Linked DNA regions of Homo sapiens: region 2 is linked to region 1. Evidence: promoter capture Hi-C in human tissues and cell types (Jung and others, 2019). All regions are on one chromosome and are shown on one strand. Each heading gives the region's core, a stretch centred on a gene start or on the middle of the fragment in contact. The rest is flanking DNA. Distances are from core to core; before and after follow the strand shown.

Region 1 (4,784 bases), core at 974-3,473:
ATATGATTTAAAAATCTTATATATACCTAACTGACCTGCTCCAACAATCCTACTGGGTGATAGAGACTATTTCTATCATATGTAGATATGTTAAAATAAATCTATTTGAAGCAATTCTGTTATTGGTAAATAATAAATAATAAAAATGTCATCCTTCAACCTTCAATACTGGTCATAACATATGCTGGGCCAAAAAATACATTTTATTTTATAAATTCCCTTAAAAATATAGTCTAATATGTCCATCTCAGAGAACAAAATTAAACAACTGTTTTTTCATCAAGGTGAAAGATCTGAATTTTAACTTCACTTACAGGCTAACAAGTTAGCTGGCTGTAGTTTCATGGATGCCGATGGAAGATGCAAAACTCTTGGCTTCGAGATAAAGGATTTTGTCACTCAGGCATAGCGGGCAGTATGAGCATCTGCATATCTTGCATTGACTGGTCCCCTGAGCTCTAATTCCCACAGATAGCTAAGAAAAGAGGATCAAGTGATACTGGCATAAACAATGGGTGGCATTACAGCAGAATAGCTCTGAGTTTAGGGAATTCAAATAAGCTTGCCTACCTTTTGGTCAGGAGAGAGATATCACAGCTTTCAAGGCTTTGTTTCAGATGGAGGTACTATCTCTATCTTCCAATATCTTCCAAGACTATTTACTGTACAAATACCCTTGAGAAGACAGTCTAGAAAAAAGGGCAATTAGTGCCTTGGTCATAAGACAGGTAGAAACACAACGGATCCAGGGAGAATTGTCTCTCCATGTTGGTGATGACTAAAACTTCTTCATACAGTTGATACGAAACATAAATTTTCTTCAACCTCTAAAATATTAGAAAAAATGATTTTTTCAAATGTTTTAAAATGAGAACCAAAAATTTAACAGTTCACATTGCATTCAGCATGCTTGAGAAAGTCATAATCACTTAAAATCCTAGAAGGACCTTATATATAGTGCATATATATAACACACATATACACACACTTAAGTGGTTTATTTTCTGCCTTCCCCATTTAAAACATAAATTCCTTGACAATAATGACTGTGTGTGTGTGTGTGTGTGTGTGTGTAATTTATTGTCTTATTCGGGTTCCTACATTAATTTGCATTAATTTAATTAATAAATGCTCTAGCTCTACCATACAACCCTTTTCCTTCTTTCTTTTTATCAACACCATCGCCATGAGAAGAGCAAAAACAAGTGTGCCTGTATTTTGAGGGTTCTCATAGTCATCAACATTGAAAATGACAAGATAAGAAATGTCAAGATAAGAAAATGACAAAATTTGCTTATCTTCAAGACCACCTCCTATACACAGAATGCAGAAAAATGCCCCACACCTCGTGGAACTCAGTAAATATTAGTTGCATTGAATTAACTTCAATTCAAGACCCCATTCTACAGTTTATAAAGTCAAAAGTTGCTCTTAGTAACACGCTCAGTAATATGTGCTGTGTTTTGAAAATAGAAAATATCCCTTTTCCTCAAATCCATAGATAGTCATATTAAGCGCAAGGACTTCTGTTTATTTATAATGATTCTCATATACAGATGCATACAACTGAAGGAAGGATGGTATGTGTTTCCAGAAATATTTGCTTTATGATGAGATATGAGTGAAGTTCCTATTTTTTTCTTCCTTTGAGAATTATGTTTTTATTATCATTTACCCTAGTGCTCATTTTCATCCTCTTCAACAGAAATTTAGCAGGGAGACTGGTTGAAAAACTATTCATATAAGTTCCTCCGGAGGCTTAATCATCAGTACATTGTCTTGGAACCACTCTGGTGTTTTCTAAATTAAATATCTCTGTCTACAACAAATGCGAAAAGTACAGAATGTTTCCGTACTCCTTCTACATCAAAATTGCCTCCTACAGGAACGAGAAAATGCGTGTCAATGTGAATTACCGTCTACAACAGCTACTCTCCAGGCTGATCTGGGGTCTTGCACACAAAGGGCGAAGAGAGGGGCGTGGGGAGGCTGGAAAGCATGGTTGCCCCGCCTGGCCCGGCGACGCCCGCTCAGCAGCCTGCTGAGGAGTGGGGACGAAGAGCAGCCTAAACTTAGGGCTCGGGATATTTCGATGCCACCCAAATTGCCGTCCTACCCCAACGAGGCAGGGAAAGGAGCGGAGCGCGCGCGCGAGCTGAGTGAGTGCTTACGTCGCAGCGAGATCTGTGCTGGGATAATTAGAGAGGAGTTGGGCTGAGCCGAGTCCTCTTTCAGCAGCAGCAGCCGGAGCCGCCGCCGCAGCCCGGTGGGGCAACCCTGACTCGGACCGCTCGGGAGAGCCCCAGGAGAGGCCAGCGCCGCGCAGCAGCCGCCCCGCTGCGCCCACCTCCCCGGCTGCTCCCGGAGGGCTCACAAAGGCGGTGGCCGCCCGAGTGGCCTTCTCCATCCAGGCGTTCGCGTCCTCCTCCCCACCTTCTCTCCCGAAGGCGAAAATGGCAGGGCCAGGCGAGAACCTGGGACAGCGGTGGCCCTAGCCCTGCGATCCTCACCCCTCCTGCTAGGAGAGGCTGCGGGCTGCCCGCGGACGATGTGGCCGCGGCTGCTCCCGAGCGCATCTTCGGCCCGGGTCCCCGCCGCCACCCCTCTTCTCTGCTCCTTCCATCCCGCCCAGAGGAGTTGATGCCGCTGTCGCCGCCGCCGCCGCTGCTGAAGCCGCGGCTGATGGATGCCAGGGAGTGCCGCATTGCTTAGCGACCCCGCCTCTGGGTTTGCTGGTAGGAGCGGCTGCTCTTTCTTCTTTCTTGCTTTGGGGTTTTATAGAAAAGATAAGGACATTTTTATTTTATTCTTCACAACGTCCTCCCCTTCTCTTCGTTTTTGAAATGTGCATTCCCAGAGATATCCCCGGTCCCCTCCCTCCCCCTCCCCCCTTTTCTCCAACCCCGCGGCAAGTCCGTGGAAATGAAGGGCTAGAGGAAGGCAGAAGTTGGGGGTGGGGTTGGGGGAGCCCACGCTGGTACCAACGCCACCAGAACCCCTGCTGGTGCCTTATGAGATCACGGTGTATCTCAGAGGGGTGGTGGGAAGGTGCGCTATCTGCAGAGTCTTCACCTAATTGGATCACAATAATCTTAAATAAATCACACAAATTTGTCTTTTAAAAATAGCGTCTTTGAATAAGTACAGGGAGAAATAATCTCCTTTCTCCCCCCTCTTTCTCTCTGTCTCTTTTTCTTTCTGGCAAAGATGATCTCTCTCCGCCCTGGAGCTCAGCGCTGAAGAGCTACCTTATTATTAATCAGAATTTCCATCGCCACCCCTGGCAGGCGTATCCTTCAGCAGGGACCGCAGGAACATTCACAGTGCAGGGGCTGAGATGTGCGTGGGGGTTGTTTTTGTTACATCTTGGAAGAGAAGAGAAGAGGACAGTACCAAGATCAGAAACACCCGTGCTAGGTGGAATTAGGGGTGATTTGTTAGGAAAGAGAAAGGACAAGAAGAGGAGTGCGGAGCCCTTCAGGGGTTCACATCTCTTTAAAGGAAAGGAAAGAGGGAGCCAAAGTAGGGTGTTGTATTTTAGGGGGCAGAGGAAGAAGTTTACACCCCCCGGCCCCCCCAGCTTTGCTGGGGGAAAGCAGGAGCAACAGGGCACTTGATTGGACACCAAGATTATTAATTTCCTGTAGGGGAGAGGAAGCAGGCAGCAGGAGGTCTGGGGGCTGGAGTCTGGTGGTGGCAAGGACCAGGTTTGCTTTGGGACAGTCAACAAGGTCTTCTGAGGGAAAGCTCAGAGATAGGCAGAACAATGACTCATTTGCAAGCCGGTCTCTCCCCTGAGACCCTGGAGAAAGCTCGCCTGGAGCTCAATGAAAACCCAGACACGCTGCACCAGGACATCCAGGAGGTGAGGGATATGGTCATCACCAGGCCGGACATTGGCTTTCTGCGCACGGATGATGCCTTCATCTTACGCTTCTTGCGGGCTAGGAAGTTTCATCACTTTGAGGCCTTCCGCCTCCTGGCGCAGTACTTTGAGTACCGGCAGCAGAACCTGGACATGTTCAAAAGCTTTAAGGCCACCGACCCTGGCATCAAGCAGGCACTGAAGGATGGCTTCCCTGGGGGCCTGGCCAATCTGGACCACTATGGCAGGAAGATTCTAGTCCTTTTTGCTGCCAATTGGGATCAGAGCAGGTAAATCCTAAATCCAAACTTGTATTCTCCTTTTACTCTCCCATTTTCCAGAATTTACCCCGAGTAGTGTCATGGTTTTGTAGATTTGATATTTTTGTTTATTTGGCTTGGAGAAAAGAGAAACAAACCAGGAGATGAGTTTTTGGTGGGCACCCTGGGAAGGGAGGAGGGCTTGTATTTTTACTTTTAAAACTTACTTCACTAACACCCACTTTCTACTGCAGCTTTAAGGTGCTACCTTAACCACGTTATTGCACAGAGATCTAAATCACTTAACTTGTAAATAAAGCTTCTCTGTATGTTTCACCTTCTGAAAAAGTTTATTGGGCTGGATAAACCAGTAAGAAAATGGGGACAACTTTTCCTCCTTCTTCCTAAAAAAATTCTTAAACTAGACCCATCATCATTGTCATCATCATCATCATCATCCTCTCTTTGGTACTGACGTTTTATCTTTTAAGCATAGCCTGGCGTTCGACCAAAAGCAAGTAGTTTTGTTGCTTGGGAAGTTCTCTGTTTGGTGATGTGTAGAAGAAGGAATAATATGATTTGTGTCCCTTCAGTGAAAGGAAGAGTTGCATCCTCTGTCGCTGAGCATGCCTGCTGACACTGAAAATGTACACTGACTG
Region 2 (4,784 bases), core at 573-3,072, 43 kb before region 1:
AATTATGTCTGTTCTCAAAAGGCATGATGATATGTGTAGAAAACTCAAAGATCCTCCAAAAATTTTTAAAACTAATAAATACATTCAGCAAATTTTCAGGATACAAAATCAACACACAAAAATCTGTTGTGTTTCTATACACTAAAAACAAGCCAAAAAGGAAATTAAGAAATATTCCCATTTACAATAGCATCAGAAGGAATATTTCAACTTATACTTACGAATAAAGTTAACCAGTAGGCAAAAGATATATACACTGAACTATAAAACATTGCTGAAAAAAACTAAAGAAGTCTCAAGTAAATGGAAATACATCTCATATTGATGGGTTGAAGGAATTAATATTGTTAGAATGTCCACACTATGCAAAGTGATCTACAGATTTAATGCAATCTCTATCTCATATTCATATGAAACCACAAACAATCAAATAATTAAAACAATCTTGAGAAAGAAAAACAAAACTGGAGGCCTCAAACTTCCTGACTTTAAAACATATTATAAATCTATTCAATGCAATCTCTGTCAAAATCCCAATGAAATTTTTTTCCAAAAGAGAAAAAATTATCATATTCATATGAAACAACAAAGGATATTGAATAGCCAAACCAATCTTGAGAAAGAACAAAACTGGAGACCTCACCACTTCTGGCTTCAAAACACATTATAAATCCATAGTATTATAAACAGTATGACCCTAGCATAAATACAGATATTTAGGCAAATGAAACAAAATAGAGGGATCAGAAAGAAACCCACATATATATAGTCAAATGACCTTTGAGAAGCATGCCAAAACTACACAATGAAAAAAATATGTAGCACCCAATACTTCAATAAATGGTTCTGGGAAAATTGGATATCCACATGAAACAGAACAAAATTGAACCCTTATCTTACACCATACACAAAATCAACTCGAATTGGATTAAAAACTTAAGCTTCATTACACCGGTGTTGGGAATGCTTTCTTGATTATGACAGCAAAGGCACAGGCAGCAAAAGCACAGGCAACAAAAGCAAAAATAGACACGTGAGACTACTTTAAACTAAAAGCTTCTGCACAGCAAAGGAAAGATGGGTTAATATCCAAAATATATGAGAAACTTCCACAACTCAATATAAAAAAGCCTTTAAATGTTTAAAGGACTTTTTTTTTCAAAATAGACTTACAAGTGGTCAACAGGTATATAAAAAGATGCTCAGCACTCATCATAGGTGAAATGCGAATCAAAACCACAGTGGGATATGGCTTTACACCTGTTAGGATAGCAATTATTCAAAAACAAGAAGAACAGAAACAACAACCAGAAAATAGCAAGTGTTGGTAAGGATGTGGAGAAATTGGAATACTTGTGCACTGTTGGTGGGAATACAAAATGGGGCCGCTTCTATGGAAAACAGTACAAAAGTTCCTCAAAAAGTTAAAAATAAAACTACCACATGATCCAGCAACCCTACTTCTGGATACTTGTACAAAAAGTTGAAAACAGGATCTCAAAGGGGCATTTGTCCTCCTATGTTTATTCTGCATTATTCGCAAAGGCAAAATGGTAAAAACAACCTAAGTGTCAATGGATGAATAGTTAAAGACAATGTGGTATATACATATAAGAGAATATTATTCAGCCTTGAAAAAGAAATGTTCTATCATATGCTACAACATAAATGAACCTTGAAGACATTATGATAAGAGAAATGAGAAAGTCATAAAAGTACAAACACTATGTTTCCACTTATATGAAGTATCTAAAATCATCACACTCATAGAAGCAGAAAGTAGAGTAGTGAGTTAGTATCTTAAAAAGATATCTGCCTCTCATGTTCAATGCAGCATTATTCACAATAGCCAAAATATGGAAACAACCTAAGTGTCCATTGATGGATGACTGAATGAAGAAATTGTGGTATGTATATACAATGGAATATTCAGCCTTAAAAAAGAAGGATTTCCTGTCACTTGTGACAACATGGATGAACACAGAAGACATTACACTAAGTGAAATAAGTCAGACACAGAAAGATAAATACTGCATGATCTAATATGCAGAATCTAAAAAGTTTAACTCATAGAAACAGAGAGTAGAGATTCTGGCCAAGACAGGCAACTAGAAGTAGCTAGCGTGTGCTGCTCTCATAGAGAGAAGAGAGTGGTGAGTAAACACTTGCTCTTCAACTGGAACATCCAGAGGAACACATTGGGATTCATCAAGGAAGCAAAGCAACCCACAGAGAATGGGAGAAGAACAAGACTGGACAACTAACCAACCAGGAGTGGTGTGGAGCTAGGGGAGGCCTCCGACTGTGAGGAAACAATGAGTGAGAGTCCCTGGGGATTCACACTTCTTCCATGGATCTTTGCAATCTAGGCTCAGGAGATCCCCCATGAGTCACCCTACCTCCACTAGGGCCTCAGCTCATCCAGAAAAGAAGTCAATTGACTGTAATCAAATTACACCACTGTTAAAGAAACATCAGCCCACACAGATCAGAAAGAACCAGCACAAGAACATTGGCAGTTCAGTAAGCCAGAGTGTTTTCTTTCCTCCAAATGACCATACCATTTCCATAACAAGGGCTCTTAACCAGGATGAAATGGCTGAAATGATAGATACAAAATTCAGAATATGTATAGGAAGATCATCGACTTTTGGAAGAAAGTAGAAATCCAATACAAAGAAACTAAGGATTACAATAAAATAATACAAGAGCTGAAAGACAAAATGGCCATTATAAAAAATAACCAAACTGATCTGATAGAGCTGAAAAACACACAACAAGGATTTCATAATACAGTCACAAGTTTTAACAGCAGAATAGACTAAGCTGAGGAAAATCTCAGATTCTGAAGATTGGTTCTTTGAACTAACTCAGTCAGACAAAAATAAAGAAAAAATTTAAAAAGAATAAAAAAATTCCAAGAAATATGGAATTATGTAAAAAGACCAAATATATGATTCATTGACATCCCCAAAAAAGAGGGAGAGTAAACAAGCATCTTAGAAAACATATTTGAGGTTATGGTCCATGAAAATTTCTCTAGCCTCACTGGAGAGGCCAACATTCAAATTCAGAAAATGCAGAGAACCCCTGTGAAATACTATGTAAGATAACTATCCCCAAGACACAATCATTAGATTCTCCAAGGTCAATATGAAAGAAAAATATTAAAGGCAGCTAGAGAAAAGGGGCAGGTCACCTACAGAGGGAAATCCATCAAGCTAATAGCAGAACTTTCAGCAGAAATCTAAAATGCTGGAAGAGAGTGGGGTTCTATATTAGGCATTTTTAAAGAAAAGAAATTCCAACCAAGGATTTCATATCCAGCCAAACTAGCTTCATAAGTAAAGGAGAAATAAGATCCTTTTCAGACAAGCAGATGCTAAGGAAATTTGTTACCATCAGACCTGCCTTACAAGAAGTACTTAAGGAGGTGCTAAATATGGAAATGAAAGACCATTACCAGCTACCACAAAAACATATTTAAGTATATAGTCCATTGACACTATAAAGCAACCACACTATCAAATCCACATAATAAGCTAACAACATGATGACACGATCAAATTTGCATATATCAATATTAACCTTAAATATAAATGGGCTAAATGCCCTCAAATAAAAGGCATAGAATGGCAAGTTAGACAAAGAAGAAAGACCCAACTGTATGCTGTCTTCTAGAGACCCATCTCACATGCGATGACACCCATAGATTCAAAGTAAAGGGATGAAGAAAAATATACCAAGCAAATGGAAAAGAGAAAAAAGGAGAGGTTGCTATTCTATTTCCAGACAAAACAGACTTTAAATCAACAACCATCAAAAAAGACAAGGAAGGGCATTACATGATGGTAAAGGGTTAAATTCAGCACAAAGACTTGACCATCCTTAATATTTATGCACCCAACACAGAGGCATCCAAATTCATGAAGCAAGTTCTTAGAGACCTATGGAGAGACTTAGATAACTACACAATAATAGTAAGAGACCTCAATACCCTACTGACAGTATTAGAAACATCATCGATGCAGAAAATTAACAAAGATATTTAGGACCTGAACTGAACACTTGACTAGATGGGCCTAACATATATCTACAGAACTCTCCACCAAAGAACAACAAAATCCTATATTCTTCTCATTTGCACCTGGAACATACTCTAAAATCAACCACAAAATTGGTCATAAAAGAAACATCAGCAAATAAAAAAAAGAAAGAAAAGATACCAGACACGATTTCAGGCCACAATATAGTAAAAATAAAAATTAATGCTAAGAAAATTGCTAAGAGAGGAAAAAAAAAGTGGTGGCTAAGAGGAAGGACTAACTTGCAACTCCCTTTTGGAAGGACAGAGTAGTGTGTGGAGGCTCACATCATGAACTTTTGCTCCTGCAATTACTGCAGGAATATACCAGGAAAGCAGAGGGAATCCACAGACCCTTCGAAGGAGGTGAAATGCTGCTGCAGGCACCATAGGATAGTCAAAGAACTGTGAATTGGCTTGCTTTCTCAGCTGGGAGGCTGTAACCTGGGGCACGTTCCTCACCTCTGCTCACTGACTGCCTGGAAATAAACTCAGTGTTGTTGGGGGTGTACAATGGGAGTGAGACTGGTCTTTTGGGCTGTGGGCTGCCTGGGACATGGGTGAGGCCGGTGGCTGCCAGCTTTCCCCCACTTCACTGGTGATCTGTGTGACAGAGCAGAGGCAGCCAGAATTTCACTGGGAACATAACTCCTTTGACCTGGGAACCACCTGCCCATCCCCCACAGCAGCTGCATCAAGC

Evidence for each region. Contacts are between HindIII fragments. The study calls those that stand out against the background at their distance.
Region 2: a contact is called between a fragment that was not itself captured here and the fragment with the promoter of CLVS2 in region 1, in 8 of the 25 tissues and cell types used here (aorta, bladder, heart left ventricle and 5 more).

What each region holds. Positions count from the first base shown.
Region 1 is chr6:122,994,012-122,998,795 of GRCh38, forward strand. It overlaps CLVS2 (clavesin 2), which reads left to right and starts at 2,224. Exons shown (of 6, transcript NM_001010852.4): 1 at 2,224-2,735; 2 at 3,208-4,155. The coding sequence starts at 3,767. LOC124901392 (a long non-coding RNA gene) reads right to left here and starts at 909. Exons shown (of 2, transcript XR_007059733.1): 1 at 571-909; 2 at 1-475. The HindIII fragment of the contact is 5,962 bases long and covers 1-4,236 here.
Region 2 is chr6:122,951,637-122,956,420 of GRCh38, forward strand. No RefSeq gene overlaps it. Among named protein-coding and RNA genes, the nearest start is that of CLVS2, 42 kb to the right of the region's middle. The HindIII fragment of the contact is 7,241 bases long and covers 1-4,784 here.